Regions from separate parts of the Homo sapiens genome. Here all the other regions are linked to region 3. The links are contacts of gene promoters, found by promoter capture Hi-C in blood cells and fetal thymus (Javierre and others, 2016). All regions are on one chromosome and are shown on one strand. Each heading gives the region's core, a stretch centred on a gene start or on the middle of the fragment in contact. The rest is flanking DNA. Distances are from core to core; before and after follow the strand shown.

Region 1 (4,268 bases), core at 1,504-4,003, 630 kb after region 3:
TACTTTACATTGACTTAATTGTATTGTATGTATAGTTTTATGTTCTACTTTTTAACATTTTGGAGAAATTTTACATTTCTACATAATTTTTATTATAATGGCCACATAATGTTATGTATATACTATATATATATAAAAATATGTAATTTTTTTTTTTTTTTTTTTTGAGACACAGTTTTACTCCGTCTCCCAGGCTGGAGTGCGGTGGTGTGGTCTTGGCTCACTGAAACCTCCACCTCCCATGTTCAAGCAATTCATGTGCCTCAGCTTCCTGAGTAGCTGGGATTACAGGTGCATGCCACCATGCCCGGCTGATTTTTGTATTTTTAGTAGAGACGGGGTCTCTCCATGTTGGCTAGACTGGTCTCGAGCTCCTGGCCTCAAGTGATCCAGCCACCTCAACCTCCCAAAGTGCTGGAATTACAGATATGAGCCACCATGTCTGGCCATAATGCTACATATTGAGTCAAGTTTTAGCCATTTGAATGGAAGTTTAACCATAACCTGTTGTTGACCATTAGTTTGTTCCCAGTTTATCACTTTATGTATACCAAAATAAGCATCTTTCTGTGTATATGTTTATTTCTTTTATGGAATTAATATCTGGGGATAAATTTTCAGGAATACAGTTGCTGAGTCTTAGGGCACTGACTTCTTTTTAAGCTTTTGATGTCTTCTCATTTTGCTTTCCAAAGGCCTGTTGCTGACAGTGTCACTGGCATTGTATGAATCTATTCTACAACCTCATACTTGTTTTGTTTATTTTGTGGACTCAGCAGATGTAAAATAGTACACCAAGTTGCTTTTATGTACATTTTTTGGTTTATTTCCTATAGATAGTAGTATGTATTTTTCATGAGTTAGTCTGTGTCCTTATCCAAATTGCATATTTATTGTACTTTGTCTGGTTATCTATTTGACTTTTTTTTTTGGTAAAAATTTGAATTTTATTTTATAGTAGTTTATTTTGATATGACTTTTTCCTCGGTCTATTTTTTTTCAGATCATCCATTGAACACATTCTTTTATTTTAATAAAACATACCATGTTCATTTATGTTTAAATAACTCAGTCTAATTTTCTATTCTTTCAAAGTTTACAAAGTCATTGCCTCCACAGAGATTTGATGAAAATTAATTTTTTTATTTGCCAAGTTTTAAAAATTAGGTTCTTAAAACATTTAATCATATGGAATTTATTTTAGATAAGGCATGAATCTAAATTGATTTTCTTTTATTTGCATTAAATATTCACTTTTCTGTATTAAGTCCTCTTACATTGTATGGGTGATTCAGACTTTTATTTTTGATTCTTAAAGCCCATGATATCACTTTGTCTTTCTTTCAAATTATATAACATCACTGGATAAGACATTACATGAATACAAGATATTAGTCACTGATTTAAGAATATTGTCTTACTACAGTCATTATTTTGACCCCGAGTCAGACTAGGGTTTGAGCTATTCTGTGATTGTGTATAGATAGGACTGCTTTGCTGCTTTTTTTTCTGTGATAATCTGATTGAAGTCGTTTATCTGTAATTAAATGAAATGTATTTTCAGCACTACCCAGACTTACGTGTAGAGCTTTTTCTGATAAGCAGTAAAATCGATTGCTATAGATTCTTCTCATCTTTTCAAAATGAGGCCTTTCAGTTTCAATTGTAGATTGTAATTCTTTTAAACCGCACAACAGCCATATGTTTTTTATTGTATGGGTTTGGAAATTTTACACATTTATTTCATAGTGATACTCTCTGGCTCAGCGTGTTTTATTTTCTTCATTTAATTTGTTTTGTTGCTTTCCCTTTTTGGGCTTTGTTAATTACTCTAGAAAGGACCTGTGGAGTTAATCTAAAACTGCCATTTTACAGTTGAGAAACAGAAGAACTAAACTTACCTGGCCAAGATCACACACCTAGCAGGGTGGTGTCTGTGATCTTACTCCCAGGCCTATGGTCCTTCTTCGTATGACACTGCTACATACTCTCATTCTTGAAGTATAAATCGTAAGTGATGGCTATCGGTATGTGCAACAGTTAGATTAAAATAGTCCCGTTGCCAGTGAGGTGATAGATGATGTTCACTTATTATTTTGATTTAAACATATACTGAAATTGTAGTAACAGTTTGTTTATATATATATATATATATATATATATATATATATATATATATATATACTTTGTATAACAGGTCTGGATAAAATTGAGTTTTTGCAAAGCCATGAAAATCAGGAAATTTACCAGAAGGCATTTGATCTGATTGAACATTACTTTGGTGTAGAAGAAGATGACCCCAGCATTGTACCTCAGGTGGATGAAAACCAACAACAGTTTATATTTCAGCAGCAGGAAGCACCAATGGATGGATTTCAACTTTAACTTACTGGAGGAAAAAAAATTTATGGCTAAAAAGGGTAGCTTCAGGTAACTCCTCTTTGTTGCCAATGTAAGAATGTTTGTTTTTTTACATAGAACAGTAAAGAGAATTTGATGCACTTTTAGAAAGCAAAATGAAACAAAAATTTCCATTCAGATGCAACCTTTCATTGTAGTTTGTTGTTGTTTTAGTTTTGTTGTTGTGCCTGTATTTATATCTTCTATTGTTTGGATTTTTGTATCTATTTGTGAATAATTGAATATGCAATTATTTAGTAATTTAAGCTTGAAAAGGAGAATTTTGGTGAAGCATTACTTAGTAATTCTGAATTTTTTCAAGCATTCTTGGAAACTGCACATTAGCAGTAAACCTATTGATAATTGCATTTTGGCAGTAAGTCTTACACATCTAATCTCTACTAAATCTACCTCTATCTTGAAGCAGAAATAAAAACAAAAAAGCTTCAGAAGCATGAAATAATGCAAATGCTAAATTAGAATGTGAAAATATTTATTACCTTAAATTATACATATCACTGTGCTGTAGGTTATACTTTGCAAAAAATTGCAACAGAAAACCTATAAAATTTATTTATAAAACAGAAGAAATATTATACTGATAATCCATTAAAATGTGGCAATTGTGAAGGGAGAAGCTGTTTTTCATGTTGAACACATTAAAAAGATTACTTTATAAAATGTTTAAATATTTCTGTTTTTAACATATAAGTGCTATGTATATTAGTATATTTTGTATTTCAACCAAATATGCTACCATTTTTGAAATAGTGTTTTATTGTTTTTCACTCATTGTTTTAAAGAGCATCATGACAGAGATGTCATCATGAATCTAAAGTAGTGCTGCATATCTAAAATAATAACTAATTATTTCTCTGATTTTTCAGAGCAGTAATTGAAAAGTTTCATTTTCTGTATAATAGTACTAGTTTAAGTTTAAGTACAAGTACAAGTTTAGGTACTCGAATGACAAAATTACCCTGAAGAAATAACCTTATTATGTGTTAAATTGTATTAAATGCATTTAACATTTGGATGCTAAATGATAATGAAAATTGCTAAAGGTTCTTTAATATGGTTCAAATCTATAAGACTTTTTTCTTTTAGTAATACTCAGAGGGTCATTCTGCTGCTTGTTATGAATCATAGATTACATTCATGTCAGATTGATCAATATGTATGTTTTATGATTTAACAGCAAAAACCTCTTCAAACGGAAAATTTGAAAGAAAGGTTTCAATAGAAAAATTATATATATATTTATACATATATATGTGTGTGTGTTACTCTCACAGTTCAACTACTGTTGAACTCAATCTTTTAATTTATAGTTATACGTAGGCTATTTATGTGTCCAATTGTATACCTAGAATACTTACTTAAAACTTAGTTTACAACTCTTTTTAAGATGAGAACTAAGGCAATTTTGATATGATTCATGGTCTATTCTTTAAAAAAAGATTTCATTTATGATAGTATTTGTAATGTTTCTGCTGGAAATCAGAGGCACGTTCCAAGAGGAAAATGTATATAGGAGTACTTTTAAAGAATATGTCACTTTGTAAATTACATATCATGAAACTAAGCTTTTGACAAGATACTTAAAACCTACAGCTGTAAAATACAGGTTTAAATGGTGTTCGTAATGCTGAGTGCATCTGCCAGCCCTTTTTTATTATTAAGTAGAAGATTGTATCTGTGCCCCTTTTTTCGTAGTGGAAGGTATATAGCCGAGTATAAAATGGTTTTCTTTTGCATTATCTGTATTCAAAAAACAGGGTAGTTATATTAAAGCTTACCAAATTGATGGTGAATTTATCAGATTAACCTTTTTGTGGTGCAGATGGTTCTAAGTATCAGGTGACAGG
Region 2 (4,353 bases), core at 460-2,959, 550 kb after region 3:
ATGGTGAAATTTCATAATATCGTGAAATTATGATGGGCTAAGAGAAGGTTGGAATAACTTCCACAGAAAATAAATAGGTTATACATTTTAAAAATGAGACTACACACACACACACACACACAAAACAGTGAAAAAATGCTACATGACAATAGCTGTAGATCTAGAAGGCAAAAAGTCCAGATTGGAGCAAAGAGGACAGAATGCTCAAGAAGGATGTGTCCGAGAATAAGGAGAGCCTCAGATTACATGACAGGTAGAGTGCAAAAACTTGAGGCCATGATGTCGTCACATATTATAGTAAAAGAGAAAAGGAAACACAATTATTAACTCAAGAAAAATTATAAATGATTTTAGAAAAAATCAGCAACAAGCAATATTTACACAATTGTATAATAAAATCTGACTTTATAAAATGATGTAAACTCTGATTTTAATAAAAACCAAGATTTAATCATATCAGAAGGATTGAAGGTAAACAGGTATAAGATATTAAAACAGACTATCTGAAACTCATAAACCAAGAAACAGCTATGAAAGCATACCATTTAAAAACAATGGAAGTGACAGTTGCCTCTGAGAGACAGAACTTGAGGGTAGAGAAGAGCACAAGATAGTGAATAGGCTGCTGATTTTCATTGCTACTTAATTTAGTGCTACTTAATTTTATTTTTAAACTATCTCTTTGCTAAAAAATAAAATTTTACAAAACAAAGCTCCCCGATAAGGAAATAACATTTATTTAGGTTTTAAGGTACATACTTTACCCTTAGGGAGGTCAGGAGTATATATACTTCACATGCTCCAATCCAGGCCTTTGTTCCCTGTAACCTGTTATTAAGTTGAGAGGCCCCCTGAGGATCAAAACCTTCCTTCCATGCATCTTCAATCATAGATTGAATTTTTGGAATGCAAGGAATCAACATACCTAAAATTACACAAGCAAACATGTTACATGACTGTTAATAAAGTACTGAATAATATTTAGCAGTGTATTATGTACTCGGGGAACTTTACGGTTTTTAAGACAGTTATTCCTGACATCTTCTATCATTTTCTCTTCCTCTAACCAGAATTCAGGTTTCTTATATAAATATCCACTAACTGTTAAAGCTATTAATTGTGTATGCTATATCATTCTATATCATATGTATTTTATCAGATGACAAGTTCAGAGTACTAGATTTCACATACCTTTTAAGCAATCGTTGTAAGCATCATTTTGTAATAATGATGAAAGTAGCATTTGGAAATTTCTGTAACCACAACCCCAACCTTTGTCGCCTAAAGATGAATGAAAGTGATCCACCACTGAAGAAAGCCACACCCGTCTCACATCTGTGGCAGCATTCTGATAATACCTATGAAGTGCTTCAATAATTCCTAAAGTAGAAAAGAGATTCAGAAGCAGTCATTATCACCTTTATATTGCTATCTCATACATTTTTAATATCAACCTCTCCTTCACGCACCATACCTAAATCCTGTTAATTCCATCTTCTTCACCTTCTTCTTGCTATAACCTTAGTTTGTGTCCTTGCTTGTTACTACAGTCCAAGTTTCCTAACACTAGCATATTATTTATTACAGTTCATTGAAATTTTCTGCATCTGCAGGGCCCAGCACATAAAGTACAACTGTTGAATGAATGTTCTTCTTGTGTCTCCATTTTATTGTATAGACTACTGGAGATCACTCAGTCTTAATCAATTTGCTCCCAATCAAAAAATATTAATAGCTCCCTATTACCAATAGTTTTAATTTTTTTGTAATTTAAGATTTTATTTTGCAGATTTTGCAATTTTCGAAGCATGAGAATACACAAATGTTTTCATTTAAAAACTCTTGACTTCATGAATAATAAACATATCTCATACTCCAATACGCTAAATTTCAACCCTTTAGTAACATATTCCATTTTGCTATTTGGGGAGATTAATTAATTTGTTTGAGACAACAGAAGACAACTTTTCTTAAGGCAGAACAATAGGTTTAGGAATCTTATTAATAGCCTTATAAACCTAATTAGAATAGTTCTAATCTATGTTATATGAAGTCTACAGAAAGCTATCCACTGTCTTATCTTTATTTCACACTACTCTTCTTGCTGTAATTTTGGCTGTGGCCTAACTGAACACATTAAACATAATTTGGCCCATAGAGTTTTATTAAATTTTCAAATTCAGTATTTGCTAAGTACTTTTTAATACACCTGGCACTATCTAAATGCTAAGTACAAAAAGATAAATATGATAATATCCTTTAAAATGTCATCGACCCCAACTATAACAAGTGCTATAATATGGAAAAACAAGGTGTTAGGACAAGGGACATCTGACTCGGCCCCTTTCCTGCTTTTAGTATATTCTCCTTATGTTTCAAAATTATAGATCCTTCACATGCTACTGTCTTCATAGACCCTTTTTCTGATTCTACCCTATTTTTGTGTCCCCAAGGTACCAGCAACATTCAGTCACAGAATACTATAATTCTTTGTGTATATTTACATACTCTACAGACTCTGTGAAGCCTATGGGTAGGGAGATCTTATTATATGCCCCATAACTTTCTCATAGCATGTGGCACCAAAGACAATAACTAAATTCTTTTTGCTTGAATGAAGGGTTTCCTAGAAGAAAATGGGTTTTTGTCTTTAATAAAGACAATAAAAGATCAATAAATAAAAACAGTTAAATGAACCAATAGTTGTAGCTGTGCCTTGCACCATGAAAAGGTGAAATACTGATCACTGTAACCACTTCCAAAGAACTTAGAAAGACTTGAATTCAAGAAAAACAACAATTAAAATAGTATATAACTGAGTACTAAATGTTGTAGCATGGAATGAATGGGTACCCTAGGAATTCAGAGAAAGAAAGCTAAATGTAGATTTTAATATCATAGACTTTGATGAAGAGATCAAGATTTGAGGCAGCCCTTTAAGAATGAGGTGGAGTAGGGGACAGAAAAAATAGAAAGGAAAGTAATAAACATTCTAGTACATTTTAGTATATATGTTACATATCAGATGGAGAGCAACACTGTCTTAGCAACATCATGCAACTGCTTTAGGGGGAAATTTCCTTATACTTTTTATTCCTTAGCACCTAAATGTCTTTAGATATTTTCCACAGTAAATTTATCTTCAGTTAAATTATATTCTGTTGTTAAAATTATAACAAGATTGCAGTATATAAGTGAAGACTCTTTAAATGATAGCTGCTTAAATTAACACTTGCATAATTAACGAAAAATAAAAATCTCTGCCACTAAATCACTTCTATATTACAGGACAGTGTGCTTTTTTACAGACATATTTAATATTTTCTTCCTGTATCCTAATGAATCATATCACACATCTGGAGGATGCTCTATGCTATAGTGAGAACTTTTTTACATGGAGACCCCTGAAGAAATATAAAGGCAGCCTTTAGAAACAGAATCATGGATATATGAAAATCTATAATATATAGTATCACAAATAGGTGGAGAAAATGCAGATTCAATAAATGGTAGTGAAATAAATAAGCATAATATGTACTTGCTATAAGGACTGTTATAAACAAGGAGAAAATAATCAGATTCCTATCTTCTCCCTCCTCCCTCCAACATACACATGCAAATAAATTCTGGGTGGATTTAAAATCAAAATATGAAATGCAAAATATAAATATTTGAAGAAAACATAAAGGTATATATTTGTGATCTTAAAGATGGGGGAGTTACTTAAGACACAAATAATAAATAGAAAGATTGAGAACTTTGATTACATTCAAATTCAAAACTTCTGTCTAATTAAAGGCACTATATATAACATTTAAACACAAACCACAGGCCTGAAAAAGATATTTGGATTTCATATAACTAATGAAAGAATAGTGTTCTGAATACTTAACAGTCTCCTATAAATCAGTAAGAACAAACAACTCAATAGAGAATAGAGAAAGGAAGAGAACAGGTAATTCGTTCAAGAGGAAACTAACTCAGGAGTAATCCAGAAAATGCAAATTAAAACATGTATCATCTCATAACCTGTTAAATAGCAAAAATTTAAAAGTGTCACCATACTATGTGTGAAATACACTGGTGTGAATGTAGATTACAAGCACTTTGGAAAACAATTCTATAATAACCTTAACAACGTTGAAGATTTGCACGCCCTTTAACTTAGCATTCCAGTTCTGGATGTAATACTAGAGAAACGCCTGAAGTAGACATGTTCATAAATTATAAGAGTAGAAAACTGGAAGCAATCTAAATGTTTATCAATATGAAAACAAGATAAGTTAGCTATAATTAGCTACATCCAGTTCTGGATGTAATACTAGAGAAACTCCTGAAGTAGACATGTTCATA
Region 3 (3,744 bases), core at 216-2,715:
ATGCACCTGGAAGTTTGACTTTGGTAGCATTCTATTGCAAGGTGCAGAGGAGAATGCCAAGGTCAATGCTCCAGGGCCAACAAGCTTTTTCCAGCCTCTCCAACAATCCAGCCTTTTCTCTTTTGGTTCACAGACATTGAAAACATGATTGTTGGACTCATCAGTGAACAGCTTAATCTTCTTGAAGATTCTTTACTTTTCCTATTCCAGAGAGATTTGTTTGGGGCTTTTAAGTGTTATAATGGAACAAGTTATCAATTTTATTCAAATGGGTCTACTAGGTATAAGTGTCCTCCTACTCAATTGTACTATCTATTGCACTAAATTAATCCTCTGATTGGTCTATTAGCCTCAGAAGGATTAGTATTTGAAAGGGTTAAATGCAGTTCTCAATCAATTATATTTTCATTATGTCACGACTATTGATTTGTCCCATTAGACACATTGTTCCTTTAAATTGAGAACTGAAGCAGTGTAAACATAATAGATTTGTATTTTCTTTTTAAAATGAGGTACTATGTAATAAAGATCTCAAAGTGCTAGTCCTTCACATCCGGAAATCAGGAAGAGAATTAAATGCCCTAAGGCATACATTGTATGTAATGGATTAACTTTCTCTGCATCTAAAATGGTAGTAGTTATACAGTTCTTGAGAGAATTAAGCAAATGTCACTCAAAACATTTTGTGCTCTATAAACCTTAAACCCGGTTTGCAAAAGTTTTTTGTAGTATGCTCTATATATTTCTATGAAGTTTCTGATGCCCTTTCATAAAAAATTCATTACAATAACAAAATAGGATTATCAAGTAATAACCAATATTGGTTTCCATAACAAGTATCATCTTGCAAAATGGTTCTTCACGATGTCTGATACATTTATTTTCTAACGCACTCCAGGGTATGAAATAGTGAAAGGTCTGTCTTCCACTTAACCACTTAGGAAACCAAGGAATATAAAGTTTTTGGTTTAAACCACTATCAAAGATCACGTGGGTGAAAAGACCTTCCAAATTGTAGGCTAACTGGGTCAGAGGGATATTAGCGGATGAATTTTTTCTATGATCTTACTATTCCTCACACAGGGGTAAAAGGTCAGGTCTAACCTCATGATCTCCTGGTTTCCGAGGCGCCCTGAGGCGATGGAGTGTCCCGGTTAATTTTGTGGTAGCCCTCGGGAAAGGCTACGTGCCTACAGGTCTCAGCTGTGCAGCAGCGGCACCGCTCCTGGACCCCTACTGCCTTCTGGGCTCCTAGGCTTGCGGAACAGATCAGGAGTCGCCGGCATTGGGGTACCAGGAGGACGCGAGCTGACTACCTGACTCCGGGCGGCGCAGGACGCCCGCCGCGCGAGGGGCGGGGGCTAAGCGTATCGAGGGGCGGTGCTCGAGGGCGCGGGAGGCGGGAGAGGCTGCCGCGCCGTGTGCCCTGGCAGCCGCAGCCCCGCCCCGCCGCGTCCGGCCCGGTCCTGTCCCGCAGCGTCCCGCCAGCCAGCTCCTTGCACCCTTCGCGGCCGAGGCGCTCCCTGGTGCTCCCCGCGCAGCCATGGCTCAGCACTTCTCCCTGGCCGCCTGCGACGTGGTCGGATTCGACCTGGACCACACTCTGTGTCGCTACAACCTGCCCGAGAGCGCCCCGGTGAGTGGCGCGGGCTCCGGGGCGCACTGCGCGCAACCTCCATGGCGGCTGGGGCTTGAGTTTCCTCCAGGTTTGGGCAACGGCGGACGCTGCCCGGGGCCTGCGGCGGCCGAGTCTTGCCGCAGAGCGCGGCCTCCAGCGGCGAGAAGGGGCGGAAGTGTGCAGCCTCCGCTCCGCGCCGGTGCCGTGGGGACCGGCACATTTACCTCAGCCATTAGCTAATGTTGAGAGGGATAGGGAAGAACGAAGGAGGGGCAAACTGCGCAAGACCGGGCTGGGGAATCGGTGATTTCTAGGGCCGAGGAGGGGCGGGGTCAGGGGGACTAGGGCTGTCCTTGAAGATCTCACGTCGTGGAACTTTCTCTGCATGTCTTTCTGGACACCAGCTGATTGTGGACACAGCCACTTGATTTGGTACTTGCATTTTTTTTGGCTGCATTTTTCTGTTTGCACGATCAACCACCCATCAGTGTTTAAACTGCAATCTGGGAGAGATGCGTAGTATATAGTGTAGTGTATTGAAAGGAACACTAGTTGAAAAGTCATTAAGATCTTAGCCCTAGTTTTACCTTCTATCAAGAGAAGAAAATACATATTTATTGCGCATCGACTACGTGCTCCGTGCACTTTGAATACATTCCAGTCCTACCAACAGTCTGCGAAGTTTGGGTCCTCACTGTGCCCTGAGGGAGGGGGACATGGAGTATGCATGCTTCCAGACCTGTACACTCAAATTAATTGCCCTCCCTCCACTATTCCTTTGGTTTCCCAATTCCCAAGGAAACTAATTTTGAAAAGTTACCAGATTTTTTTAGTCCAAGATCTAAGCATCCAGACAGAAAAAGAGCTGGTTATGAGTACAGTGGTGAAAGCGAGGACTCCTCAGCCAGACTGCCTAGCTTAGGACACCAGCTCCACTGTTACTAGCTCTGTGACTTCGAGGAAGTTACTTAACCTGTGCTGCTTCTCAGTTTCCCCATCTGTAAAATGGAGCTAATAATTGGATTTACCTCACAAGATTGTTGCAAGGATTAAATGAGTAAGAGATGTATAATGCTTAGAATAGTACCTTGGCAAAGACAAGTGTTTGCTTTTATGGTTACCACCCAAACTATTTGGAAACCTCACAGTTTATGGGTAGAACTCTAGATCACTGGTGCAGACATCAGCCAGGGTTGTGCCCCATTATGGGCACCCGCCAGTTCCTGCACCCACCAGTTCAGGTACACGTTAAAGGTCAAAAAAGAGTGGCTGCCCGAATTTCTCGTGTGTTTTCTATGCCCAGATGCTAAATTTTTTTTTAAATGTCCTTTTTCTGCTGTTACACTTTCCTGCTTTCTTACCTTACAGGTCTGGTTTCCTTAGTCACATTGAGAATTAAGAAGGCTTTTTTACTGCTTGATTCTTTGGCCACTGCTTCCCCTAGGTCTTTGATACATGTTTTCCTTCCCTCTGTGTCTTTCGAATCCTTCCTGGTTCACAGTTTTGTGTGTCTCCTCTTTAGTTACCTTCATTTGGAGGTAATATTGTTAAACCACTGTCATGTTAGAGCTAGTGTTGTCCATAGGTGATCATAAAATTTCAGAATATAAGATTCTCAAAGACAAGAGGTTTTTTTACTGCAAACCTGGAGAATAAGTGATGTTTAAAGCTTGAAAACAGTAACCTATTGAGTTTTGGATCATGTTTGGTGTGGAAATCTTTTTTATTTTAAGTCCCACAGTGTGCTGAGCACCATGCTAGAGCTGAGGATACAGAGATCAACACGCAGGCCTCCAGGCAGCCTTACACAGTAGGCAAAAATGCTGAAGAGTTAGTCTTGGTCCCTTGTGGTGGGTAGTATGACCTGGGTCTTGCTTCACGCTGCCAACAGTGCCTGGAGGGCCTCTTTGCTCTGCACAGAAGCTCTTCATCCCATCAGGCCTCATCTTAAACATCGTTCCCCTTAGGAAGTCTTTTTGGCCCTTAAAGTTTGCCCTTCCATTCTAAGCCCACCTTCAGTTTTCCACAAAACCCTTCATTCCTCATAGCACATGCTGCATGATATTAACACTTCCTGTTTACTTGTTGGACTTCCCCTAGAGCCCAGCGTGATGACTCCATCAGTA
Region 4 (3,839 bases), core at 720-3,219, 530 kb after region 3:
CCATGACATAGTATTATTATCCTTAATTTTCAGATGAGGAAATTGAAAGAGAGTTTAGGAAATGTGACAAAAGGAACATAACTAATAAGGAACAGAATCAGATGTGAGGCTGCACAGAGTGGACCCAGTGCATCCACTTAACCCCTGTGCTATATTACCTCATCTGCAGGTAGAAAATCTTCGTTATACTTTGATCTAGATAAGAGATACTCTTAGCTTTCTCTACATAAGAGCTAACTGAGACATTATAAACCCTAAACCTCCATAAATAATCTTACCACATTTAAATGTTATTGTTAATAATAATCATCATAATAGCTTTAGCTCTCTCACATAAATTATTTACCACAAACCAGTAAAATACACTCTTACCTTTTTCACTAAGGTTCTGCTAATTTTAAAATATAAGTGATAATTTAAAAATACACATTCTGTGACTTCAAGAATTTGGCAAATTCTTAAAATAAATAGCACGGTCCTTTCCTTGAAACAACCTAGATCAAAATAGCACTTGGAAAATGTATGTAGAATGAATGAATGAATAATTGATTAAATTCCCACAGAGTTACACTTCATCCTGATCAATTCAAATGAATAATCTGAAATTTTAAGGTCCCCATTAGACTACTAAATCTTGCAACATTCATTCCCAGGGTCGCTGTAATTGGTTCAACTCCATACAAAAAAATGAGGAAGAAGAAGAGGAAGAAGATGAAGAAAAAGACGATTCTGACTACATAGAACAGGAAGTGGGGCTTCCTCTTTTGACACCAATCTCTGAAGATTTAGGTTATTTTACGTAACTATTATCACACACAGACACACAAACAATATAATATACTGTGTGCATTATATAGTAAATATGAGAGTCGGAAAGCTCTAAAAACTGGACAGGAGCCAAGGTCTCATCCTCTTCCCATTCATGTTCTGGGATGATAGGGAGTGAAGAATGTAGCTGGCCACATCAATGTTCTCTGACAGAGGTTGAAGGAGTCATGCAGACAGGAAACATAAGTTGGCTGTAGCGCTTTCTGGAAATGCTGACAATTGTCTCCTTTATTATTCTTGTCTTGCATTCTGCAGACCATAAACAAATGGCATAAATATTCTTCGTCCTGGTTTTTAAAAACTCTACTCTCATTCCTATATTCTTGTCTCTTTCCCTTCAGTTTTGGAGTATTTGTGCTTGCAACCCTTGATCTTATTCATATTAATGATGTACCTTTCATTGGGCCATCAAATATTACTCACTCTACCACATAAGCCTCCTTTCCCTTAATAAAACTTCTTGTCTTGTTTGCAAAAATGGAGATGTATATTTCAAATTCCATTGTTCCAAAACATTCATGAAGTACCCTCCTGATTTTGTTAAGTTGCTGCTGTTTTTTCTTTCTGTATCAAGTATGTGTGTATCTGTGTGTGTGCATGCATGTGTGTGTGTGTGTATTTATAAAAATAGCTTACACAGTAGATTCTTGTCTAGTTAGGAATTAAGCTTTTGCATTTCTCTTTGGGTTCCAGAGATTCAGAATATACCCCCCTGGACAACACGGTTATCCTCAAATCTCATTCCACAATATGCTATTGCAGTCCTTCAATCCAACCTTTGGCCTGGAGCATATGCCTTCTCCAATGGCAAGTAAGTATCTGACCACTTACAAAGCCATTTCTGTGATTAGTTAAGCTCTGGAAATTATAAATAACCACTAGAATGTTAAGCTACTATCGTTGTTTCTTTGGTTTTTTTTTTCGTGTTTTTTTTTTTTTTTTTTTTTTTGAGACAGAGTCTTGCTCTGTCACCCAGGCTGGAGTGCAGTGGCATGATCTCGGCTCACTGCAACCTCCGCCTCCTGGGTTCAAGCCATTCTCCTGCCTCAGCCTTCCCAGTAGCTGGGATTACAGGCATGCACCACTATGCCCAGCTAATTTTTGTATTTTTTTTTTTTTTTTTTTTTTTAGTAGAGACAAGGTTTCACCATGTTGGCCAGGCTGGTCTTGAACTCCTAATCTCATGATCCGCCCCGCCTCAGCATCCCAAAGTGCTGGGATTACATGTTTGAGCCACCATGCCCAGCTGCTACTATCGTTTTAACTCATCTTTGGCATATTATGTGTGTGTGGCATAAAATTTATTAAAATAACATCTGTGATACACAATAAAACATCAAATTCAGGACATTAAGTAGTAATTTGGACTTTTACCCTTTCATCTTAATTATCCAATTTGTTGAAATAAAATATGGTTTTTCATCATTGATTATTTGGGTAATGACTTATTCACTTAGTAGATTAATGGAGGTATTTCTAAGCAATGTTTAGTTTAAATCTCAGATCATTTCTGGAGAGAAAGCTGAGCGGCCAGGTGTTAGAGTAGCCATTAAAGCAACAAGCTAAAAATGAGAGTTAAGCCTTTAATCATTTACTGTGATAGTATAAACAAGAGAAAGCTTTGACATCCCCCTGTTCCATTTTCCCCCATGGAATGGCCCTCTATTGGAGAGTCAGGTGGATCAGCACAGATATGGCTATCATAGATGTGGAGGTGCTGGGGTCATCTCATTGACAAGGGAATCCTCAAACGGCTCCTGCAGTTTTACAGACCTGGAGACCAAGAGGAGGATGAGAGGGCTAGAAGTGAAAAAGTGCTGAGCACAGAGAGCAGAGAAAGGAGGGGCTGGAAAGGCCTCTGCTGAAGGCCTCAGATAAAGAGACCTAGGAACGGAAGCACCTGGTCTAGGAATGCAAACATTGAAGAGCATGACGAGCCAAAGGGGCCAGCGTCCTTGACTGCAACTTCCCGTAAAGACAGCAGTGCATTGTACTCCAAGTCTGATGTGCCAGGTAAACTCTTTGTGATTGCCTATGGTCATGCCTAAAAAAAAGTAACACATAGGTTTCTAACCACAAGCCCAACTCCTTGCCCAACCAGGAGTTTGCACAGTTAGCTATTTTTATATCTTTCTAACTTTGTGGAAGGTAGTAACTTTTTTTTTTCCTCCCCTGAAAATAATTGAAGGAAGAAAGGCTTTTGCTTGTGGTCTAGGTGTAGGGTACATTTTAACAGTATCTGGCCCCATGGTTTTTTTTTTTAACCAGCTTAGGCAGTTTGGATGAAAACAATTCCCTGTGGTAGAAGAATCATTGAGGAATATTTCACTTCTAGCATTTTACATGTATTGCTTTTTTAAATTATAGGACCATGATATTCTAAGCACTTTAATATTACAGAAGGGTCAGTTTTTCTGAGAAATTATATAATGATCTTTTTTTCTTCTTCTTTTTCTTACTTATAGAAAGTTTGAAAATTTCTACATAGGCTGGGGTCATAAGTATAGTCCAGACAATTATACACCCCCAGTTCCACCACCAGTTTATCAAGAATACCCCAGTGGACCAGAAATTACAGAAATGGATGATCCTAGTGTGGAGGAGGAGCAGGCTTTCAGGGCTGCACAAGAAGCAGTTCTACTCGCAGCTGAGAATGAAGAATCTGAGGAAGATGAAGATGAGGAAGATGATTATGACTAATAAACATAAAATTAGCCTGGTTTTATGTGACACTGATACACACACACCCCTTATATGGGACTAATTTTACACTTTTCTGTGTTATGTGTGTATATACATACACATGTAAGAAATTATTCAACTGCAAAATCTCAATCTTGAAAATCAAGCTTGAAATTTCATAGGTAGAAATATTAGCATTTTTATTGAAAGATACTCACAGGATTTTCCAGAGGCTAAATAACATGCAATTGCATAATTGTTCTGAGGGTTATGGATAATGGAATATGTGTTTGTACATTCCTGTTTTTAAAAGGGCTCAGGTTTCACAT
Region 5 (3,837 bases), core at 627-3,126, 590 kb after region 3:
CCAGCTACTCAGGAGGCTGAGGCAGGAGAATGGCGTGAATTCGGGAGGCAGAGTTTGCAGTGAGCCGAGTTGATGCCACTGCACTCCAGCCTGGGCGACAGAGTAAGACTCCATCTCAAAAAAAAAAAAAAAAAGAAGAACGATATTTATTTAGATGTCAAAAAGAATATAAGCAGATTTTGTTTTCCTCAAATTTTGATTTAGGAAATGTAGAGTTATCCCTTGGTTCCAGGATCCTCTGCAGATATCAAAATTCACTGATGCTCAGGTCCTTTATGTAAAATGGCATGGTATTTGCATATTACCTGCACACATCCTCTTGTATATTTTGAGTCATCTCCAGATTACTTATAATATCTAATACAGTGTAAATGCTGTGTAGTTGAGTTGTTATACTGTGTTGTTTTAAAATATGTATTATTGTCGGGCTCAGTGGCTTATGCCTATAATCCCAGCACTTTGGGAGGCCTAGGTGGGCGGGTCACCTGAGGTCAGGAGTTTGAGACCAGCCTGACCAACATGGTGAAACCCCGTCTCTACTAAAAATAAAAAAATTAGCCGAGCATGGTGGCGCACGCCTATAATCCCAGCTACTCAGGAGGTTTAGGCAGGAGGATCGCTTGAACCCAGGAGGTGGAGGTTGCAGTGAGCCGAGATTGTGCCACTGCACTCTGTCCTGGAGACAGAGCGAGACTCCGTCTCAAAAAATAAAATAAAGTGAAATAAAATATGTATTATTTTTTATTTTCGTATTTTGTTGTTGTTGTTTATTTTTAAGAGATGGGGTCTTGCTGTGTTGCCCAGGTTGCCCTCCAATTCCTGGGCTTGTGCAGCCCTCCCACCTCAGCTTCTCAAGTAGCTGAGACCAGAGGCACGTGCTGCCATGCTTGGCTTCTTATTTTTTATTGTTATTATTATTTTTGATCTGAGGTTGGTTGAATCTGGGAATGTGGAACTCACAGATATGGAGGGCCAACTGTACCTATAAATCTCCTTTAGTGAACTCACCATGTTTCTTTCTTCTTTTTTTCTGCTTCATTTTTATCTGCTCCTGAATTAATAAGCATAGTACTGTCATTCCTAAGATTTGTTTTCTATTCCTTGTTAATCAGATATACTAAATCTGTTAATGTATCAGATGTTATCTTTCATATGCAACAGATGTGCTTTTTAAGTTTTCTTGCAAAAATTCTTAGATACCTCATAATCCAGTGTGTAAATATGTGCTTTTTTAAGTGCTATAAAATGACCATGTGTATTCCACTTACACGCTTACTGTTGGTAAAAGATCTGAGATTGAAAGTGACGTGAAGTAGTCTGTGCAGCCAAAAGCTAGCCCAGAAATTTGACTTCTCATAAATACCTTAGATCTTCCTAGTATAATGATTGGGAAATACTCAAATATTCAGAATTTTAAGTTATAAAATTGATAGGTTTCTTTTGTCCACTCAAATGAAAACATGGAATTCTATGGCAACTTAATGTTTTATGGAAAGCTCAATGTGTAAACTGATTTCTCTTTATTACAGTTGTTCAAACGCAGAAATGTCTATTTGCCCAGAAATGATGAATCTATGCTTGAAAGTCCTATACAGGATCCAGATATTAGTTCCACTGTACCCATTCCAGAGGTATACTTTACCAAAATATGTTTCAAATTATACCTCAATAATTTTAGCAATAGTATGTATAACAAATATTTATGCATGCAAAATTATTCATGTAAAATATGTAAATGTTAATTATATTTTTGTGTGTGTGTTTTAGGAAGAAGTTGTTACTACAGATATGGTTCAGATGATTTTTTCTAATAATGCTGATCAACAGCTAACAGCAACACAGAAATTTAGAAAGCTGCTTTCTAAAGGCAAGAATTATTTTCAGTATGCTTATTTGATATTACACGATTTTTTAGTAGAGGTTTATTTTATTGTTTTTTTTTAAATTTTAAAATACCTTTCTTTGCTAGACACAGGTGTTATATTCTCTGCAAAATATATTGTAAAGTAACATCCGTTTTTGAACATGATGTTACCAAAGTAACATATGTTGACTGTAGAAAAATCGTAAAAATATAAAAGCAGTTAAAGAGGCAAATATAAAAAGATTAATCCTGCTGCCAAGAAATAAGGTTAGAGATATATATTTTTTAATTCTTGTAGAAATATTTTTCAGACATGATTTTTTATTTTTATTTGTATTTATTTATTTTTTATTTTTTTGTTATACTTTAAGTTTTAGGGTACATGTGCACAACGTGCAGGTTTATTACATATGTATACGTGTGCCATGTTGGTGTGCTGCACCCATTAACTCGTCATTTAACATTAGTTATATCTCCTAATGCTATCCCTCCTCCCTCCTCCCACCCCACAACAGGCCCCGGTGTGTCATGTTCCCCTTCCTGTGTCCATGTGTTCTCATTGTTCAATTCCCACCTATGAGTGAGAACATGCGGTGTTTGGTTTTTTGTCCTTGCAATAATTTTCTGAGAATGATGGTTTCCAGCTTCATCCATGTCCCTACAAAGGACATGAACTCATCCTTTTTTATGGCTGCATAGTGTTCCATGGTGTATATGTGCCACATTTTCTTAATCCAGTCTATCATTGTTGGACATTTGGGTTGGCTCCAAGTCTTTGCTATTGTGAATAGTGCCGCAATGAACATACGTGTGCATGTGTCTTTACAGCAGCATGATTTATAATCCTTTGGGTATATACCCAGTAATAGGATGGCTGGGTCAAATGGTATTTCTAGTTCTAGATCCCTGAGGAATCACCACACTGACTTCCACCATGGTTGAACTAGTTTACAGTCCCACCAACAGTGTAAAAGTGTTCCTATTTCTCCACATCCTCTCCAGCACCTGTTGTTTCCTAACTTTTTAATGATCGCCATTCTAACTGGCGTGAGATGGTATCTCATTGTGGTTTTGATTTGCATTTCTCTGATGGTCAGTGATGATGAGCATTTTTTTATGTGTCTTTTGGCTGCATGAATGTCTTCTTTTGGGAAGTGTCTGTTCATATCCTTCGCCCACTTGTTGATGGGGTTGTTTGTTTTTTTCTTGTAAATTTGTTTGAGTTCTTTGTAGATTCTGGATATTAGTCCTTTGTCAGATGAGTAGATTGCAAAAATTTTCTCCCATTTTGTAGGTTGCCTGTTCACTCTGATGGTCGTTTCTTTTGCTGTGCAGAAGCTCTTTAGTTTAATTAGATCCCATTTGTCAATTTTGGCTTTTGTTGCCATTGCTTTTGGTGTTTTAGACATGAAGTCCTTGCCCATGCCTATGTCCTGAATGGTATTGCCTAGGTTTTCTTCTAGGGTTTTTATGGTTTTAGGTCTAACATGTAAGTCTTTAATCCATCTTGAATTAATTTTTGTATAAGGTGTAAGGAAGGGATCCAGTTTCAGCTTTCTACATATGGCTAGCCAGTTTTCCCAGCACCATTTATTAAATAGGGAATCCTTTCCCCATTTCTTGTTTTTGTCAGGTTTGTCAAAGATCAGATAGTTGTAGATACGTGGCATTATTTCTGAGGGCTCTGTTCTGTTCCATTGGTCTATATCTCTGTTTTGGTACCAGTACCATGCTGTTTTAGTTACTGTAACCTTGTGTTATAGTTTGAAATCAGGTAGCATGATGCCTCCAGTTTTGTTCTTTTTGCTTAGGATTATCTTGGCAATGCGGGCTCTTTTTTGGTTCCATATGAACTTTAAAGTAGTTTTTTCCAATTCTGTGAAGAAAGTCATTAATAGCTTGATGGGGATGGCATTGAATCTAAAAATTATCTTGGGCAGTATAGCCATTTTCATGATATTGATTCTTCCTAC
Region 6 (4,126 bases), core at 1,386-3,885, 570 kb after region 3:
CTGAGAGAGGAAGACCTACCCTCAGTGTGGCAAGCACCATACAGTCAGCTGAGGGCTAGGCTGGGGCAAACAGGAAAGAGAGGGAATTCTCTCTCTTTGCTCTCTCCCTTCTGGAACAAGACACCTTTTTCCTTCCTGCTTTTGGACATCAGATTGCACCATATTCATCTTTTAGACACTGGGATTCGCACGAGTGGCTTCCCAGGAACTCTTGGGCTTTTAGCCTCAGAGTGGGGGCCAAACCCTCTGCTTCCCTGGTTCTGAGGCTGCTGGGACTGAGCCACATTACCAGTTTCTCTGGTGCTCTAGCTTGCAAGATGGCCTATTGTGGGACTTCCACCTCTGTGATCATGTGTCAATTCCCTAATAAATTGCCTCTCGTATATAGTATTGGTTATGTCTCTCTGAAGAACTCTAATACAGCTAGGTTGCCATGAGACTCCTCTTTCCCTTCCAGATAGAAGACTACAGATTTAGTTCATGAAGAAAACGAACCAAAAAAACCAGCTATGAACCCTATCCTGGGGGTTCAAAGGCTTGACCCTATCCTTAGGGTAAAGGCACTGGACTGAAAATGGGAAATAGGGAAGGCTAAATACTAAATTATGAACCTCTTGCTCCTTTTCCCCCATCACATCTTGATATGTGATTTCTGCCTCCAAGGCAGGAGGTTGGAAAATTCCTCCCCAGAGAAATCAATTGTCCCAAGAGAAAGACCTAACAGATGTCAACTTTTAGGAAGTTATCCAATGATACAGCCAGGTCCCTATTTTACCACTCTGTGGGAAGGCTGCCAATTGGTGAATAAACAAGCCCCACTGACGCACAGTGTATAGAAGGTTTCTTTAATGTCTTATTCTTAAATATGAATAGATACTCAAGGGTTCCAGGCATTTGAGTACAGCCTATGGCAAGTAAGATGGAGAGCTAAACAATAATCATAGTTTAAAAAGTAAGCTCTGAAGAAAAAAAGAAAGAGAAAAAAATTTCAATGGAAACCACAATTAATATCCTCAGATAGATAAGAAAATGTATTGAATCTCTAAATCCAAAATAGGAAATAGCTGTTGGGATTAAAAATATTTCATACTTTAAAATACACATATTAATAGAGGCCTGGAAGATAAAGCCCAAGAAATTTCTCAGAAAACAGAACAAAAAGAACAAGGGATAGAAAAACAGGAAAGGAAAATAATCAAATGAGAAATTGGATTCTACATCCAACTAATAAGAGATACAGAGAGGAATAACAACAAAAACAATGGAAAATTAGTTATCAATGAAATGACATGATAATTCATGACTTAATAATAATTTCTCCTGAAACATTATTTCTTATTATTTCCCAGGAAGCTCCCACCAAAATGAGGGAAGAAGCAAAGAAAGTGGAAGGTATGGGGCCGGGCATGGTGGCTCACACCTGTAATCCTAGCACTTTGGGAGGCCGAGGCAGGCGGATTGCTTGAGCTTAGGAGTTTGAGACCAGCCTGGGCAATATGGTGAAACCCCGTCACTACCAAAAATACAAAAAATTATCCGGACGTGGTGACGTGTGCCTGTGGTCCTAGTTACTGAGGAGGCTGAGGTTGGAGGATCATTTGAGCCCAGAAGGCAGAGGTTGCAGTGATCCGAGATCACACCACTGCACTCTAGCCTGGGTGACAGATTGAGACCCCATCTCAAAAAAAAAAAAAAAAAAAAAAGAAAAGAAAAGAAAAGAAAAGAAAAAAAGAAAGTAGAACGTATGGAATTCCATAAAAAACTCTACCAAGATGAGAGAGAACAGACAGGAATGAAGGCAGAAAGGAAGAAAAAGAAAGGGAGGGAGGGAGGAAAGAGGCAACTGACAGATCACTTCATGTTTATGACCATACTGAGAGAAATATATTCTGTTAAGCAGAATAGTGTCCCTCAAAGATGTTTATGTCCTGGCCAGGCATGGTGGCTCACACGTGTAATCCCAGCACTTTGAAAGGCCAAGGTGGGAGGATTGTTTAAGGCTAGGAGTTGGTGACTAGCCTGGCCAACATAGTGAGACCCGCCCCCCCCGTCTCTAATATTAAATTTTTTTAAAAGATTCTATTTCCTTATTAACAGAACCTGTGAATATCTTACTTTTCATGGCAAAAGGAATTTGTAGATGTGATTAAGGATCTTGACAAGAGGGGTTTATCTAGGTAGGCACAATGTAATCACAAGGGTCCTCATGAGAGGGAGACAGATAGGAAGGTCAGTCTTAGAAAAGGAGATGCGATAACAGAAACAGAGGTCAGAGAGATGTAATTGCTGAAAGGGGTCCAGAAGCCAAGGAATGTAGGTAGCTTCAAGGAACTGGAAAAGGCAAGGAAATGGATTCTCCCCTATAGGCTCCAGAAGAAACACAACTTTGCTGACACCTTGATTTTAGCCCAGTGAGACCCATTTTGGACTTCTGACCTCTAAAAGTGTAAGATAATACATTTATGTTATTTTAAGTCAGCAAGTTTGTGGTAATTGGTTAGAGCAGCAACAGGAAACTAATACAGATCTCCAGCAGTGTGTTTGAAGATGAGTTAGTGATGAGTAGTTAGAAAATTAAGCAAATGATAATGACAGAAAACAGGCAATTAATTTTAGAACAATAAAAAACTATACAAGGAATGTAATTTTTACATAAAAATTTAAATATTGATTTAACCAAAATAATTTTGATAGAACTATATTGGAGGATGTGCGATCAGGAAGTATGTGTAAATGTGTATGTTGGGAGGTTAGTGCAGTTATGAGTAATAAATTCTCATTTTACATCTATAACAATAGAAAATGTCTATGACTTTACAAATTAAGAAATAGCAGTGTATGATTTTAAAATATTTAATTAGAAAAGAGATACCAATAAGAATACCTAAACAAGTTGAAAATAGTAGCTTCTGGGGAGCGGCATCTGGGGATGGTCAGGTGGGAAGTGTTAATTTTCACGATAAACTTATTATTGGACCCTTTAAATGATATATTTGTATTATTTGATTACAATAAATAAAAATTTAATTGTAAATTACTACACCTTCTGGACAGGGAATAGATTATAAAGGAGTCAAGGTAGATACAGATTGCTTAATTAGGATACTACTGCAGTTTATGAAATAAATGATGGAATGCTAGAAGAAGTGTCAGTAGAGATGGACTAGGTGTAGATGTGGACTATTTTGGAGCTAGAAGCGAAAGACAGGAGGCACTGGTAAGGGCAAGGTAAAGAATGATTCATAAGTTTTTTAACTGGAGTTTCTGGCTGCGTAGTTGTATCATTACAGAGATAAAGAGGCCTGAGAAAGAAATAAAGTGGAATGGGATAGAATAAAAAAATCTGTTTTGGCTTATTAAATTTGAGATGCCCATCAGACATCCAAATGGAGGTTTGATATATGAGTTTAGACCTCCAGGAAGAGGTCAGGGATGGAAATTTGAATTTGGGAGAAAGTGGTTTATAGGTAGATGGCTTTTAAAAATACAGGAGTATGTTGTATCACCTAGAGAGGCAATGCAGCAAAGTAAGAGGCCTGGCGCCAACATTTATAGGTTGCTTAAAGGAGGAAGACTAAATAAGGAGGATGAGAAAGAAGAGGCATGAAGCTGAAAGAAGGCCATTCATTTCTTTATCTTTGGAAAACTGAAAAAGTATGTGTGGTAGAACCTTTGGTACACTGCCCAAGTTCTGGTTCAGGACTAAAGGATTTTCTTCCCCCAATGATGAGGGCTCTAGGCCAAGTTCCACTTCAGAAACTGCACTCTGGTCAAAGGGAGCTGCTGCCTCACCCAAGATTAACCCTCCTCTCTGGATTTGATTCAGTGATATCCAAAGACTTCTTGATTCAGTGATAGAAACATGAGCCTCTAGCCTCAACAGTGACAATTCTGAAGGGCCATCCCAGCTTCTGCACTTCCTATAAGATTGTCTGAAGTCTCTGTTGCTAATAATGCAACATAATTTATCTCTCTGTAGAATCCTGCTTCCTCACTCCTGTTATTATTCCCAAAGAGCACTCTGCAATAAATATCAGGTGGCAAATCTTGAATCTCAGTCTGTTTCCCTGTGTTCCGTGAAAGGGCTGTATATGCAAAGCAACTGCCAAATGTTGAAGGAGCCAAG
Region 7 (4,305 bases), core at 548-3,047, 610 kb after region 3:
TTTTTTTCGAGACGGAGTCATGCTCTGTCGCCAGGCTTGAGTACAGTGGCATGATCTTGGCTCACTGCAGCCTCTGCCTCCTGGGTTCAATTCTCCTGCCTCAGCCTCCCAGGTAGCTGGGACTACAAGCGTGCACTACCACGCCCAGCTAATTTTTGTATTTTTAGTAGAGACAGGGTTTCACCATGTTGGCCAGGATGGTCTCCATCTCCTAACCTCGTGATCCGCCCGCCTCGACCTCCCAAGGTGCTGGGATTACAGGCATGAGTCACTGTGCCTGACCTGTTTAGTGTTTTTATCATAAAAGGATGTTGAGCTCTTTTAAATACTTTTTGCATCCAATGAGATAACTTGTTTTTTTAAATTCATTATATTAATATGGTTTATTATTTTGATTGATATTTGTATCTTGAAGCTTCCTTGCATTGCTTGGTTAAATGCCATGTGGTCATAGTATAAGCTGCTAGATTCAGTTTCCTAGGATTTTGTTGAGGATTTTTGTATGTATATTCCGAAGAAATATTTTTTCTTTTGTAACTTTTGTTTTGATGTCTTTGTCTTTGGTATCAGGGTAATGCTATCCTCATAGAATTGATGAGGAAGTGTTCTCTTTTTTTAAAAAAAAAATTTTGCGGCTACATAGTAGATATGTTTATTTATGGGGTACACGCGGTGTTTTGATACAGGCATTCAATGTGAAATAAGCACATAATGGAGTATCTATGCCTTCAAGCTTTTATCCTTTGAGTTACAAATAATCCAGTTACATTCTTTCCATTATTTTAAGTGTTCTCTTATTTTTTGAAAGGGTTTGAGAATTATTCATTAATGTTTGGTAGAATTCACCAGTGAAGCCATCTGGTGCTGGACTTTTCCTTTTTGGGAAGTGTTTGATTAGAATTCTATATCTTGTTATAGTTCTATTTAGATTTTCTATTCTTAAGTCAGTTTGGTAGTTTCTGTGTTTCTAAGTGGTTTTTCATTTCTTCCAGCTTATCTTTCTTGGCTTTTGATGATAATATTCTCATATAATTTTTTTTTGTTGAAGTGCTGATAGTAATGTCTCTACTTTCATTCTTAATTGTAGTAATATTATTTTATATATATATATATATATATTTTTTTTTTTTTTTTTTTGAGTTGGAGTCTTGCTCTGTTGCACAGGCTGGAGTGTAATGGCATGATCTCGACTCACGGCACACTCTGCCTCCCGGGTTCAAGCGATTCTTTCACCTCCGCCTCCCAAGTAGCTGGGATTACAGGTGCATGCCACCATGCCTGGCTAATTTTTGCATTTTTGTAGAGACATGGTTTCACCATGTTGGCCAGGCTGGTCTTGAACTCCTGACCTCAGGTGATCCGCTTGCCTCAGCCTCCTGAAGTGCTGGGATTACAGGTGTGAGCCACCGCGCCCAGCCAAATTGTAGTAATATGAATCTTTTTCCTTTTGTCCATCTAGATAAAGGCTTGTTTTTGTTGATTTTTTTTTTTTTTTGGGTCAAAGAACTGCCTTTTTGTTTAGTTGATTTTCTGTAGTGTTTTTCTATTCTGTATTTTATCTCTGGTCTTAACTTTATTTTCTTCCTCCTGCTAGCTATGAGTTTTGTTTACTCTAATTTTTGTAATTTCTGAAGGTGGAAGGTTATCTTTTTTTCATATGGGGTGTTAACAACTATAAATTTTTTTCTGAGTATTAATTTCACTACATCCCTTAAGTTTTGGTGTGTTTTTTTTTTTATTTATCTCAAAGTATTTTCTGCATATGTGTGTGTGTGTGTGTGTGTGTGTGTTTTAACTCACTAGTTATTTAAGAGTATGTTACTCTACTCATAGTTCTGAATTTTCTAGTTTTCTGTCTGTATTTTTAGTTTCATTCCATTGTTGTCAGAGAAGATACTTTTTATGATTTCACTTTTCAAAAATTTATCAGAGCTCAAGTGATCTGCCTGCCTTGGTCTCCCAAAGCCTCCTGAGTAGCTGGGATTACCGGCATGTGCCACCAAGCCCAGCTAATTTTTGTATTTTTAGTAGAAATGAGGTTTTGCCACGTTGGCCCGGCTGGTCTCAAATCCCTGCCTCACGTGAGCCACCTGCCTTGGTCTCCCGAAGTGTTGGGATTACAGGCGTGAGCCACTGCGCTAGGCCTAGACCATGTAAGTTTTTAAGTGATACTTCTTTTTCTTTTTGAGACAGAATCTTGCTCTGTTGCCCAGGCTGGAGTGCAGTGGTGCAGCCTCGGCTCATTGAACCTCCGCCCCCAGGTTTAAGTGATTCTCCTGCCTCAGCCTCCTGAATAGCAGGGACCACAGACACGTGCCACCATGCCTAGCTAATTTTTGTATCTTTAGTAGAGATGGGTCTCACCATGTTGGTCAGACTGGTCTCGAACTTTTGGCCTCAGGCGATCTACCCACCTTAGCCTCCCAAAGTGCTGGGATTACAAGCATGAGCCACCACATCTGACCCATGTGTTACTTCTTCCTGATAGATTGACTTTTTATCAATATATGATGTTCTTCTTTGTCTCTGAAAACAATTTTTGACTTACAGTCTAGTTTGTCTCATTAGTGTAACTATTCGGATCTCTGTTATTATTTGCATGGAAAATCGCTTCTCGGCCTTTTGGCTAAGATCAAGTGTATTATTTGCATGGAAAATCTTTTTCTATTTCACTTTCAACCTATTTATGTCTTTGATTCTAAAATGAGTCATTTGTAGACAGCATCGTAGACTTATGGGTTTTGTTTTGTTTTGTTTAATATATTCTGCCAGTTACTACTTTTAATTTGAGAGTTTAATTCATTTACATTTAATATAACTACTGATAAATGGGGACTTACTTTTGCCGTTTTACTATTAGTTAAGCTTTTGTAGAGACAGAGTCTCGTTATGTTGCCTAGGCTGGTCTTAAACTCCTGGCCTCAAGCGATTCTCCTGCATTGGCCTCCCAAGGCACTGGGATTATAGGTGTGAGCCATAGCACCTGGCCATTGTTATTTGTTTTCCACATGTCACTTTTTTTTTAAAATAATTTATACTATTGATTCCTTTCTTGTTTCCTTTCCTATTTTTTTAAAAAGTTTTTTTTTAATGTACCCTAAGGAGTATAATTAACACTTTAAACTTGTAACCACCTTGATTGAATTACTCGCAGTTTACCTTCAAAATTATACAAAAACACTACTCCTATACATATCTGTCTCACCCTTCTTAAGTTGTTATTGCCACAAATTGCATTATTATACATTGTGTGCCCATTACCCTAGATTTATAATGATTTTTTTTTTGCATTTTACTTTTAAGTCATGTAGGGAAAAAAAGAGGAATTACAAACCAAAAAATCCATAATACTAGCTCTTAGAGTTACCTATGTAGCTATCTTTAGCAGTATTCTTTATTTCTTTGTATGGTTTTGAGGTATTGTTTATGGCCCTTTCATTTCAGCATAAAGGATTCCCTTTAGCTATTCTTGTAAAGCCAATCTGCTAGTGATGCCTTTCCTCAGCTTTTGCTCATGTGGGAATCTCACTTTCTCCTTCTGTTTGGAAGGATTGTTTTGCTGGATATTGAAGTCTTGGTTGAGAGCAGCACTTTAAATATGTCATCCCATTGCCTCTGTCCTTCATGATTTTTGATGAGAAATCGGCTATTGATCTTTATGAGGAATCTTTTTACACTACGGGTCACTTCTCTCTTTTTGCTTTCAAGATTCTGTCTTTGTCTTTTGATTACTTGTGTCTTGGTATGTGTCTTTTTGAGTTTATCCTTAGAGTTTATTCAGCTTCTTGGATGTGTAGATTCATTTCTTTTATAAAGTTTGAAAAGTTTTCAGTAATTATTTCTTCAGATATTCTTTTTGCTCCTTTTCTTCTTGGATTTCCATTATGCATATATTGGTATGCTTGATGGTATTTTACAGCTTTCTTAGACTGTGTTCATTTCTTGTCATTCTTTTTCTTTCTGCTTCTCAGTTTGAATAATTTCAATTAACCTATCTTAGGGTTGTGGATTCTTTCTTCTCCCTGCTCAATCTGCTGTCAAACCCCTATAGTGAAATTTTAATTTCAGTTTTATACTTACAGCTTCATAATTCCTATTTAGTTCCTTTTTATAATGTCTGTTTCCATAGTGATGATTCTCTATTTGTTGAGACATTGTTTTTCTAGTTTTCTTTAGTTTTTTTGTGCATAGGTCCTTTAGCTCTTTTGAACATGTTAGACAATGAATTTAAAATCTTTGCATAGTAAATCCAATGTCTGTGATTTCTCAGGGAAAATTTCTTTTAATTTATATATTTCACTGTTA

The links. Contacts are between HindIII fragments. The CHiCAGO score rates a contact against its expected background, and 5 or more counts as called.
Region 1: a fragment that was not itself captured here is called in contact with the fragment with the promoter of NT5DC1 in region 3 in 1 of 17 cell types (total CD8 T cells); the score reaches 5.3 in total CD8 T cells.
Region 2: a fragment that was not itself captured here is called in contact with the fragment with the promoter of NT5DC1 in region 3 in 5 of 17 cell types (total B cells, monocytes, activated CD4 T cells and 2 more); the score reaches 7.4 in total B cells.
Region 4: a contact is called between a fragment that was not itself captured here and the fragment with the promoter of NT5DC1 in region 3, in 1 of 17 cell types (fetal thymus). The highest score is 6.2, in fetal thymus.
Region 5: a fragment that was not itself captured here is called in contact with the fragment with the promoter of NT5DC1 in region 3 in 1 of 17 cell types (activated CD4 T cells); the score reaches 5.5 in activated CD4 T cells.
Region 6: a contact is called between a fragment that was not itself captured here and the fragment with the promoter of NT5DC1 in region 3, in 10 of 17 cell types (non-activated CD4 T cells, total B cells, activated CD4 T cells and 7 more). The highest score is 10.1, in non-activated CD4 T cells.
Region 7: a contact is called between a fragment that was not itself captured here and the fragment with the promoter of NT5DC1 in region 3, in 2 of 17 cell types (total CD4 T cells and M0 macrophages). The highest score is 5.7, in total CD4 T cells.

The regions. Positions count from the first base shown.
Region 1 is chr6:116,729,939-116,734,206 of GRCh38, forward strand. It overlaps KPNA5 (karyopherin subunit alpha 5), which reads left to right. Exons shown (of 14, transcript NM_001366306.2): 14 at 2,198-4,268. The coding sequence ends at 2,385. Among named protein-coding and RNA genes, the nearest start is that of FAM162B, 34 kb to the right of the region's middle. The HindIII fragment of the contact is 177 bases long and covers 2,666-2,842 here.
Region 2 is chr6:116,650,813-116,655,165 of GRCh38, forward strand. It overlaps ZUP1 (zinc finger containing ubiquitin peptidase 1), which reads right to left. Exons shown (of 10, transcript NM_145062.3): 6 at 1,192-1,380; 7 at 760-925. Among named protein-coding and RNA genes, the nearest start is that of ZUP1, 16 kb to the right of the region's middle. The HindIII fragment of the contact is 5,992 bases long and covers 1-4,353 here.
Region 3 is chr6:116,099,388-116,103,131 of GRCh38, forward strand. NT5DC1 (5'-nucleotidase domain containing 1) reads left to right here and starts at 1,466. Exons shown (of 12, transcript NM_152729.3): 1 at 1,466-1,636. The coding sequence starts at 1,544. It also overlaps a transcript of FRK not described here. RefSeq lists enhancers at 1,126-1,648, 1,649-2,169, 3,639-3,708 and a silencer at 1,282-1,541. The HindIII fragment of the contact is 3,203 bases long and covers 83-3,285 here.
Region 4 is chr6:116,628,914-116,632,752 of GRCh38, forward strand. RSPH4A (radial spoke head component 4A) reads left to right here. Exons shown (of 6, transcript NM_001010892.3): 4 at 654-789; 5 at 1,522-1,639; 6 at 3,294-3,839. The coding sequence ends at 3,528. LOC124901386 (a long non-coding RNA gene) reads right to left here. Exons shown (of 2, transcript XR_007059721.1): 2 at 1-1,077. Among named protein-coding and RNA genes, the nearest start is that of RSPH4A, 14 kb to the left of the region's middle. The HindIII fragment of the contact is 952 bases long and covers 1,494-2,445 here.
Region 5 is chr6:116,690,526-116,694,362 of GRCh38, forward strand. KPNA5 (karyopherin subunit alpha 5) reads left to right here. Exons shown (of 14, transcript NM_001366306.2): 3 at 1,530-1,631; 4 at 1,768-1,867. Among named protein-coding and RNA genes, the nearest start is that of KPNA5, 11 kb to the left of the region's middle. The HindIII fragment of the contact is 8,500 bases long and covers 1-3,837 here.
Region 6 is chr6:116,672,499-116,676,624 of GRCh38, forward strand. No RefSeq gene overlaps it. Among named protein-coding and RNA genes, the nearest start is that of ZUP1, 5.8 kb to the left of the region's middle. The HindIII fragment of the contact is 7,093 bases long and covers 1-4,126 here.
Region 7 is chr6:116,709,776-116,714,080 of GRCh38, forward strand. All of the region lies in intron 7 of KPNA5 (karyopherin subunit alpha 5), which reads left to right. It also overlaps the pseudogene LOC124901560. Among named protein-coding and RNA genes, the nearest start is that of KPNA5, 31 kb to the left of the region's middle. The HindIII fragment of the contact is 2,132 bases long and covers 732-2,863 here.